Linked DNA regions of Homo sapiens: region 1 is linked to region 2. Evidence: promoter capture Hi-C in human tissues and cell types (Jung and others, 2019). All regions are on one chromosome and are shown on one strand. Each heading gives the region's core, a stretch centred on a gene start or on the middle of the fragment in contact. The rest is flanking DNA. Distances are from core to core; before and after follow the strand shown. Region 1 holds the start of ZNF560 (zinc finger protein 560). Region 2 holds the start of ZNF266 (zinc finger protein 266).

Evidence for each region. The method cuts DNA at HindIII sites, captures the fragments that hold promoters and counts their contacts. A contact is called where the count stands out against the background at its distance.
Region 1: the fragment with the promoter of ZNF560 here is called in contact with the fragment with the promoter of ZNF266 in region 2 in 2 of the 25 tissues and cell types used here (adrenal gland and thymus).

The regions. Positions count from the first base shown.
Region 1 is chr19:9,496,576-9,501,826 of GRCh38, reverse strand. ZNF560 (zinc finger protein 560) reads left to right here and starts at 3,211. Exons shown (of 10, transcript NM_152476.3): 1 at 3,211-3,289; 2 at 3,612-3,699. The HindIII fragment of the contact is 15,358 bases long and covers 1-5,251 here.
Region 2 is chr19:9,434,060-9,438,588 of GRCh38, reverse strand. It overlaps ZNF266 (zinc finger protein 266), which reads left to right and starts at 3,016. Exons shown (of 11, transcript NM_001370374.1): 1 at 3,016-3,305; 2 at 3,396-3,481; 3 at 3,730-3,791; 4 at 4,354-4,514. It overlaps LOC105372269 (a long non-coding RNA gene), which reads right to left and starts at 2,948. Exons shown (of 3, transcript XR_007067133.1): 1 at 2,817-2,948. RefSeq lists an enhancer at 3,096-3,225. The HindIII fragment of the contact is 27,667 bases long and covers 1-4,529 here.

The DNA.
Region 1 (5,251 bases), core at 1,962-4,461, 63 kb before region 2:
TACTGAAGCCAGATAAAAAATATCTCTTGCTGGGAGTGGTGGCTCATGCCTGTAATCCTAGCACTTTGGGAGGCCCAGGGTGGTCAGATTGCTTGAGCTTAGGAGTTGGAGGCCAGCCTGGGTAACATGGCGAAACCTCATCTCTACAAAAAAAAATACAAAAATTAGCCAGGTGTGGTGGCTCATGCCTGTAATCCCAGCACTTTCGGAGGCTGAGATGGGCGGATCACCTGAAGTCAGGAGTTTGAGACCAGCCTGGCCAACATGGTGAAACCCTGTCTCTACTAAAAATAGAAAAAAATTAGCCAGGTGTGGTGATGCACACCTGTAGTCCCAGCTACTTGAGAGGCTGAGGCAGGAGAATCGCTTGAACCCGGGAGGCGGAGGTTGTGGTGAGCCGAGATCACACCACTGCAATCCAGCCTGGGCAACAAGAGCAACACTCCACACACACACACACACACACACACACACACACACACACACACACACACACACAAAGTAGCCAGGCATGGTGATGCGTCTGTGGTCCTAGCTTCTTGAGAGGCTGAGGTGGGAGGATGGCTTGAGCCTGTGGTGGTCAAGACTGCATTGAGCCAAGATTGTGCCACTGCACTCCAGCCTGGGCAATAGTGTGAGACTCCATCTCAAAAAAAAAAAAAAAAAAAAAGCTAAAGAGAAAGAAATTAGAGACTATCTTTCATGAATATAGATGCAAAAATCCTTAAAAAATATTAGCAAATCATATCCAACAGCACATTAAAAGCACTATACACCATGACTAGTGAGATTTATCTAGGAATGCAAGGTTGGTTCAACAAAAGGAAATTTAAAAAATGTAATTCTTCACATTAGTACAAAAGACAAAAAATCCCACAGAATCACCTCAACTAATGCAGGAAAGGCATTTGATGAAACCCAACACTTTTCCTTGATAAAAATTAAGAAAACTGGCCAGGCGTGGTGGCTCACACCTGTAATCCCAGCACTTTGGGTGGCCAAGGCAGGTGGATCATGAGGTCAGGAGTTGGAGACCAGCCTGGCCAAGCTGGTGAAACCCCGTCTCTACTAAAAATACAAAAAAATTAGCCAGGTGTTGTGGTGGGCACTTGGGAGTGCCCACCTACTTGGGAGGCTGAGGCAGAGAATTGCTTGAACCCGGGAGGTGGAGGTTGCAGTGAGCCAAGATCATGCCACTGCACTCCAGCCTGGGTGACAGAGCGAGATTGTCTCAAAAAAAAAATTAAGAAAACTAGAAACAGAAGGGAGTTTATTCAACGTGACAAAACGCACTTACGAAAACACAGCTAACGTGATATTCAATAGTGAATGCCTGAAAATTCTCCCTAAGACCAGGAAGGAGAGAAAGATGTCTGATTTTTCTATTGTTATTCAACATTCTACAGGAAATTCTTTTTTTTTTTTTTTTTTTGAGATGAAGTTTTGCTCTTGTCACCCAGGCTGGAGTGCAATGGAGCCATCTCCACTCACTGCAAACTCCGTAACCTCCGCCTCCCAGGTTCAAGTGATTCTCCTGCCTCAGCCTCCCGAGTAGCTGGGATTACAGGTGCCAACCACCACGCCTGGCTAATTTTTTGTATCTTTAGTAGAGACGGGGTTTCACCATGTTGGTCAGGCTGGTCTTGAACTCCTGACCTCAGGTGATCCACCCACCTCGGCCTCCCAAAATGTTGGGATTACAGGAGTGAGCCACCGTGCCCAGCCTCTACAGGAAATTCTAGCCAGAGCAATTACACAAGAAAATAAAATAAAAGGTTTCTCAATTAGAATAGAACAAATAAAAATATATTTATAGGTGATATTTGATATATAGAGAATTTTGAAGAATCTACAAGAAAACTAGCAGAGCTTGTAATAAATTCCGTAAAGTTGCACAGTACAACATCAAGAGATGAAAATTAGTTTTGTATCTATACACCAGCAATGAACAATCAGAAAAGGAAACTGAGAATGTGATCCCTTTTACAAATAAGTTACATGGGAATAACTTTACCCCAAGAGGTAAAATATTTGTAAACTGAAAATTTCAAAACATTACTGAAAGAGTTTAAAGAAGACCTAAATAGAGAGATATTGTATATTCACACATAGGAAGACTCAGTATTATAAAGATACCAATATAACCCGAAGATTCAACTAAATCTCTACCACAAGTCCAACAGTCCTTTCTTTTTCTGCACAGAATAAGTGAAGAATGCCTGGTATCAGTGTTATTTCATAAAGTAGTACAGGAGGCTTTGAATCATTTGATAAGATTTGAGAAATAGTAACAAATACATTGTTGAAGAAGAAAAAAAAATACAATAAGGCCAGGCATGGTGCATGATGGCTCACGCCTGTAATCCCACTTCGGGAGTGCAGGGCGGGCAGATCACTTGAGCCCAGGAGTTCCAGACCAGCCTGGGCAACATGGTTAGATCCTGTCTCTACAAAATAATAATAATGATGATAATAATAATAATACAAAAATTAGCCGGGTGCGGTGCGCCCGTGGTCCCAGCTACTCGGGAGGCTGAGGTGGAAGGATGGCTTGAGCCTGGAGAGGTGGAGACTGCAGTGAGCCGTGTTCCTACCACTGCATTCCAGCCTTGGCAACCGAGCCAGACCCTACCTCGAAGAAAAAAAGAAAAGAAAAGAAAAAAGAAAGAAAAGAAAAAAATTGCAATATTTACAGAAAGTATCGATAACTGAAAACGCAGAGGAATCAATGATTAGAGTTTAGCAAGGTCAGATAAATAAAAAGAAATAAGAGAAAATAAAGTTCTAAAGACGTGATCGAATGCAGGAAGCAGGCCATTTTGTGGATTGGCAGGTTATCAACTGGAGAGAATCCTGAAAGGGGTCCAGGAACGTGGGGAAAGTTTCTAATGAGCATCCTGAGGGGCGAGTCCATCGCCCGACGTTTCGCCTTCCTGGTCCATTCTGCCACCGAAGCCACCGGCTGGGTCTGGTCCCACCTCCAGCCCCGCCCCCGGGCATGGGCCCCGCCCACAGCCCTGATTTAACCCCCACCTTTCTCTGTGGGTCCATTTCTCTCTTGCCCACCCAGGCACTGAGCCGACCCCTTGATACCTCCGCACCCACGCGGAGGGAAACTAGAATCCTGAAGAGTTCCATCCTGTCCAACTGCCCACACAACGAGCCACGCCCCTTCCAATGCCCCAAACGGAAGTGACGTTGCGGCGCGCCAGTTCTCTCTTTTGGTCGCTGGCGCCTGTTTCCTCAGAGCCACTTTTTCCTTTGTGTTGTCTGGTCGTTCACTACTTTGGTGAGGCTCGTGTGGACTAGTGGGTTGGGCGGTGTTTCGGGGGGTGGCAGAGGTCACAATCGACCCAGGGTAATCGAGGAACCTCCTTACAGAGGCCTGGACCACTCCACAGGAGTCCGCAGGAGTCGCGGAGCCATCGGGTGAGGCCACGTCGAAGAGGCCATTGGGACCTTCGGTCCCCTAGAGGAGCCGGGTGGGAAGTGCAGTATGGGCGCGTCCGAGGGCTGTTTTCAGCCGTGTGTTCCCGTCTTCAAAAGTGTCCAAGCGTTCTGAGGCCTTAAAAAATAAGTCTCCAAGGCAACGTTTGTGAATTGTGTTTCAGAGGGAAAAGAATTTTGCCGTTCGCGTTCGATTGACTCCGTCCCCAAGATCCTGTAGCCCCACGGACCTGGCGACTCCACCGTGTTCGGGTGAGCATTGGGAAAAAGTTGGTTTAAGGGGGCAGCTGCTTCCTTTTTTATGCAAACGAGTGTTTCATGTGAGATTTTGGCATTTTGCCTTTGTGAAACCTGTATATTTTTTATTGACACATTACGTTCCGGTAGAAAGGTGCTTTCTTAGTTGTCTAGGGTGTGCGTATTTCTGCATGTGCATATAAACGTTTGTAGACCGCGAGTCTTTCTACTAAAGAAACCTAAGAATACTCAGCCATTCTTTTCATCTGAAGTTCCTAGCTCTGTACGTCTCCAAAGAGCTTCATAACCAGGCTTCCTGGAAGAAAGGATGGAGGGTTTACACACTAATACTAGAATAATCGAATTTACCATTAACAGGATGACTGTACTAAGTGTATTTTTCCCGCATTTTTTTTCGAAAAAACTTAAACCTATGGGTATGTTGACCATCCAGTACCACGAATAAATATCCATTGTAGCTGCACCTGTTTTTTAGCGTTTTGTGTATTCGCCGTCTCGTAAATAAATTTTATGGTGAACAGTTTGAGAGTCAATGGGAAATTCATTGCAGAGATGAAGCTCGACATTTTTTTTTTTTTTTTTTTTTTGAGAGGGGGTCTAGCTGTGTCGCCCAGGCTGGAGTGCAGTGGCGCGATCTCGCCTCACTGCAACCTCTGCCTCCCGGGTTCAAGCGATTCTCCTGCCTCAGCTTCCCAAGTGGCTGTAATTACAGGGGTGTGCCACCGTGCCCGGATAATTTTTTGTATTTTTGTAGAGATGGGGTTTCACCGTGATAGCCAGGATGGTAAGCTCGACATTTAAGTAGTGGGTAATGCCTGACTCAATGATAAGAGTGTTGTTTTACTAAAACCGTAATACTATTTGCATCAAGAAAATTAAAAATAATAATGTTATCTAATATTTACTATGTATAATAAATGAAAATTCTCCAAATTCTTCTAAAATATAACGGAATGTTTTTGGATCTGAGCTCTATTCAAGATTTTTTTTTTTTGAGAGTTTTTTTGAGGCAGGATGTTGCCTTGTTGCCCAGGCTGGAGTGCGGTGGCATGATATTGGCTCACTGCAACCACCGCTTACCACGCCCAACTTTGTGTTTCTGTGCCTGGTTTATTTCACTTAACGTACTGTCCTCCAGTTCTATCTACGTTGTTGAAAATGACAGGATTTCATTCTATTTTTTTTTTGAGACACAGTCTCGTTCTGTCGCCAGGGTGGAGTGCAGTGGTGTGATCTCGACTTACTGCAACCTCTGCCTCCCTGGTTCAAGCGATTCTCCTGCCTCAGCCTTTTGAGTAGCTGGGATTTCAGGCACGTGCCACCTCGCCCAGCTAATTTTTGTATTTGTAGTGGAGATGGGGTTTCACCATGTTGGCCAGGATGGTCTTGATCTCCTGACCTCGTGATCCGCCTGCCTCAGCCTCCCAAAATGCTGAGATTACAGGCGTGAGCCACTGCACCTGGCCAGGATCTTCTTTGTTGTCTTTTGTTTTTCTTGCCTTCCTCCCTGTCCCCCCCACCCCCACCTTTTTTTTTTCCAAGTTCA
Region 2 (4,529 bases), core at 1,767-4,266:
TAGGGAAATACAAGTCAAAATCATGAGGTATCACCTCACACCACTAACACAGTTAACATGAAAAACACTAAAGTGTTAGCAGGGACGTAGAGAAGTTGGAGCCCTCATACATTTCTGGTGGGAATGTAAAACAGTACAGCCCCTTTCAAAAACAGTGTGGCAGTTCTTCAAATTCTTAGATAGTTACTGTATGGCTCAGCAATTCCATTCCCAGATATATACTCTAGAGAAATAAAAACCAGCTGAGCGTGGTGGCTTATGCCTTTGTGGAGGCCGAGGCGGGCAGGTTGCTTGAGCTTAGGAGTTTGAGACCAGCCTGGGCAAAACCCTGTCTCTACAAAAAAATACAAAAATTAGCTGGGTGTGGTGGCTTATGCCTGTGGTCCTAGTTGCTCAGGAGGCTGAGGTGGGAGGATCGCTTGAGCCTAGGAGGTAGAGGCTGCAGTGAGCTGTGATTTCTCAAAAAATAAAAGCCAGTATGCACAAAAAGATATATGTGAATTTTCATAGCAGCATTAATCACAACACCCCCAAAGTGGAAACAAACCATATGTCCATCAACTGAAGACAAATCATATATGGTATATACATAGAATGGAATATCATTCAGCAATAAAATAGAATGATCTAGGCTATAATACAGATGAACCTTGAAAAACGGGCTAAGTGAAAAAAGTTATTCACAAAAGATTGTATGATTTTTAGGCCGGGCATGGTGGCTCACGCCTATAATCCCAGCACTTTTGGAGGCCGAGGCAGGACTACTTAAGCCCAGGAGTTCGAGATCAGCCTTGCAACATAGTGAGACCCTGTCTATACAAAAATAAAAATAAATTGTATGAGTATATCCATATGAAATGTCTACAAAAGAAAAATCTGTAGTGATAAAGTAGGTTTGTGGTTCCCTGGAGCTTAAAGAGGAGGTAAATGGGTTTTCCCATTCAAAGATTTCTTTTAGTGTGATTAAAATGTTCCAAAATTATGTTTGAACAACACTGCGAATGTACTAAAAAATATTGAATTATATAGCTTTAAGTGGGTGAACTGTGTTGGTTATATGTGAATTGTATCTCAATACAGCTGGTCTAAAAACCAAAAGGGAAAAATCACAATAATAGCCACATCATTGGGAGCGTAAAAATTTAATGTCTATTAAGCATTTAGGGTAGTAAGATTTAAAAAACAGCTACCGCCAGGTGCGGTGGCTCACACCAGCACTTTCAGAGGCTGAGGTGGGCAGATCACCTGAGGTTAGGAGTTTGAGACCACCCTGGCCAACATGGCGAAACCCCATCTCTACTAAAAAAAAAAAAAAAAAAAAATACAAAAATTAGCTGAGCGTGGTGGCGCGTGCCTATAATCCCAGCTACTCAGGAGACTGAGAAAGGAGAATCCCTAGAACTCAGGAGGTGGAGGTTGCAGTGAGCCGAGATCGTACCACTGTATTCCAGCCTGGGTGACAGAGCAAGACTGTCTCAAAAACAAACAAACAAAAAAGCTACCATTATTATTATTATTACCACGGAATATTATTAGTTGATACAAAACCACTGGAATGAAAAGATTATGATCTTGATATTGGCATAAGTAAATGTATTACTGGCATAGAGTCTAGAATCAGATACAGGTATACATAGGAATTTATAGTTTAATAAACATGGAATTTGAAATCAGTAAATCAAGGACAGTTTATCAATATGTGGTACTACAATAATTGGCCGTGTTTCTGGAGGAAAGAGATATTGTATCCACTATCCCACACCACATACTGAAACACATTCCATGAGTATGAAAGATTTCAATGTTTTTAAAGTAATATGCTGCAGAAGAAAATTAGGAAATCTATATGTAATCTAGAGTTTATGAAGACTTCTTAATGCAAGAGAGGAAACTTAAAAAAGAAAATCTTTTTGAGTTGAAAAATTAACTGCAAAATAGTTACCAGTTCAGTAGATTCACAAAATATTTGATAATGTACATGAACAGTTCTTCATGTTAGTAAAACAGTGTTCAAAATAACTTTATTAACTCCATAAAGGCCACCCACTACAAAGCACAGCAAAAACGATTTCTGGAGAAACTAGAATCACTCCTGCAGAAGTGAATGCCTGATATCAGTGCTATTTTACAACGCGGTATTTTACAACGAGGCCCTGGAACTCACTGTAAGATCTCAGAAAACAATATATTAGTCAAAGAAAAAAAAATCAACATTTACAAAAAGTATCAGCATATTGAATACACAAAGGAATCAACTATTAGAATTTAGCATGGCGTCCAGATAAATGAAATAAGGGGAAATATTGGCCTCAAGTTGAATTGGGCCCGGCGCCGTGGTGCACGCCTGTAATCCCAGCCTTTTGGGAGGCTGAGGCGGGATGATTGTTGGAGCCCAGGAGTTTGAGATCAGCCTGGGTAACATACCTCAACTCTGGGGGAAAAAAAATTAGCCGGGCATGGTGGCCTGCGCCTGTAGACCCAGCTACTCGGGAGGCTGAGGCGGGATGATGGCGTGAGCCCATGAGTTTCGCCCCACAGCACGCCAGCCTGGACTACACAGTGAGACCCTGTCTCAAACAAAAACAAAATAAAAAACTAAAACTAGATTGAATGAATGGAGGAGATAGGCCATATCATGGACTGGCAGGATTATCAAAGGAAGCATCATTTTGAGGGTGCTAGGAACGTGGGAGGAGGTGAGAATAAAAGCTTTTTGTGAGCATTGTGCACATCCTGTGGGGGAGCCCCCACCTCTAACTTTGCCAACACCACCGACCCCACCCTAGGTTAGCCCCGTCCGCAGGGCTGGTTCTAACCTCAGCCTTGTGCTCTGGGCCCCTTTTGGCCTCCATCCCTCAAGGTGAGCAGACTCCAAGGCCTCCAAGGCGTCTCCGTAGCCACTGGGGAGTAAACCAGAATCTCTCTGCCTGAGGTTGTTCAGCTCGGCTGAGGTTGCAGTTCCCGAGCGCTCCTCCAGGTTTGAGGCTGGAGGCGGAAGTGACGTCACGGAGCGCTGCTGTGTTTTCCGGCGCTTTCTCCGCGCCGCCAAACCCGTTTTCTTCCTGGTGGCGTTTGGGCTTAATACAGCTTTGGCGAGGTCGGATGACGGGTGGGAGCCAGCGGTGGAAGGGGTGGCGAAAGTACCGGTTTGCCCCAGGCCGCCGAGGGGCCTCCTTAGAGAGACCTTGCCTGCTCCGCTCGCGTCCGCCGGGGCCGCGCGGGTCCTCCTGGCGCCGCCAGGTTCAAAAAGCCACTCGAGTTGTCACTGCGACGGCCCTGGGCCAGGAGCCGTTTCGGGATCTGTCGTAAGGGCGCTTCCTCACGATTTTTGCAAACACGGTGATTGCCGCTTCAAACTCTTCCAAAGCAATTCTTTGTGACTTTTTTTTTTCCAGAAACAACGAGTTTTCGTCGTTCGAATCAGGTTGACTGGTCCTTCATCCCCCCAATCTCCCGTACCTGGCGAGTCCAGCTCGTCGCGGTGAGTACTGGGGTGAAAGTTGGTTTCGGGGGCTTCTTCCTCCTGTTTTATCTGAGAATTTGTTTTTCTCTTTGCGCATCCTGTATTTACTTTTGACACTCTACATTCAGGTAGAAACATAAAGCTATTTTTTAGGTATCTGGGGTGTGGTTATTTCTCTATGTGAATATAAACGTTTGTAGACCAGAAGTCTTTCTACTGAAGAAAAGCAAGAATACTCAGCTATTCTTTTTATCTGAACTTCCTAGGCCTGTACCTCCCCACAGAGCTTCAAAACGGGCTTTTAGGAAGAAGGAATGGAGGCTTTGAAGTAAGTTGAACATTGCAGGCGTGACACTTAAGGTTTAAATGCTTGGTAATACGTGTCCTGTGGATAAAGACATGTCCTTTTAAAACCATAATACTATTACCCCAGAAAATTTAAAATGTTGTTAATATGTACCCTGTGTAAAAAGGTACAGTTCTCCACTTTGTTCCAATATATGGTTTTGATTGTTTTGGGATCTATTACGTATCCAAGTTTCATGTCTTTTAGTCTCTTTAAAACTAGCAGACACTGTTTATCCGTTATATTGTCTTTTTGCGCAGTCACTCGTTCTTTCAGAAAGTTATACATTTTGGTAGTTCTGATTGTATTCTGTGCCGTGTTTAAATGTATCCTTCATTTATTGGTGTATCCTGTAAATGGATGAGTGTCTGAATGGTTAATTAAGGCATAGTAAAAAAATTCAGCCTAGGGCTGTTCTTAGGGAGGTTGTAAACTAGTGGAGGAGGCTGTCATGTAACCAAGCAAATAAGTGTATTACAAATTGATGAAGGTCTGTAAGTAAAGTAGAGGACAGAATTATTTTCTCTATTTTTCTTTGGAATAGGCAATGCTAAGAAAAGAGTGATATGCAAGCTGAGACCAAAAATATGGTATGATTTAGCCATACTGAAGGGGAAGGAAATAAGAGCTGGGCAAAGCATTCTGTGAATTGGCTGACTCCACTTCTATGGTGAGAGAGAGGAGTGCATCAAAGATTACTCCCAGGTTTGACAGAGTCAG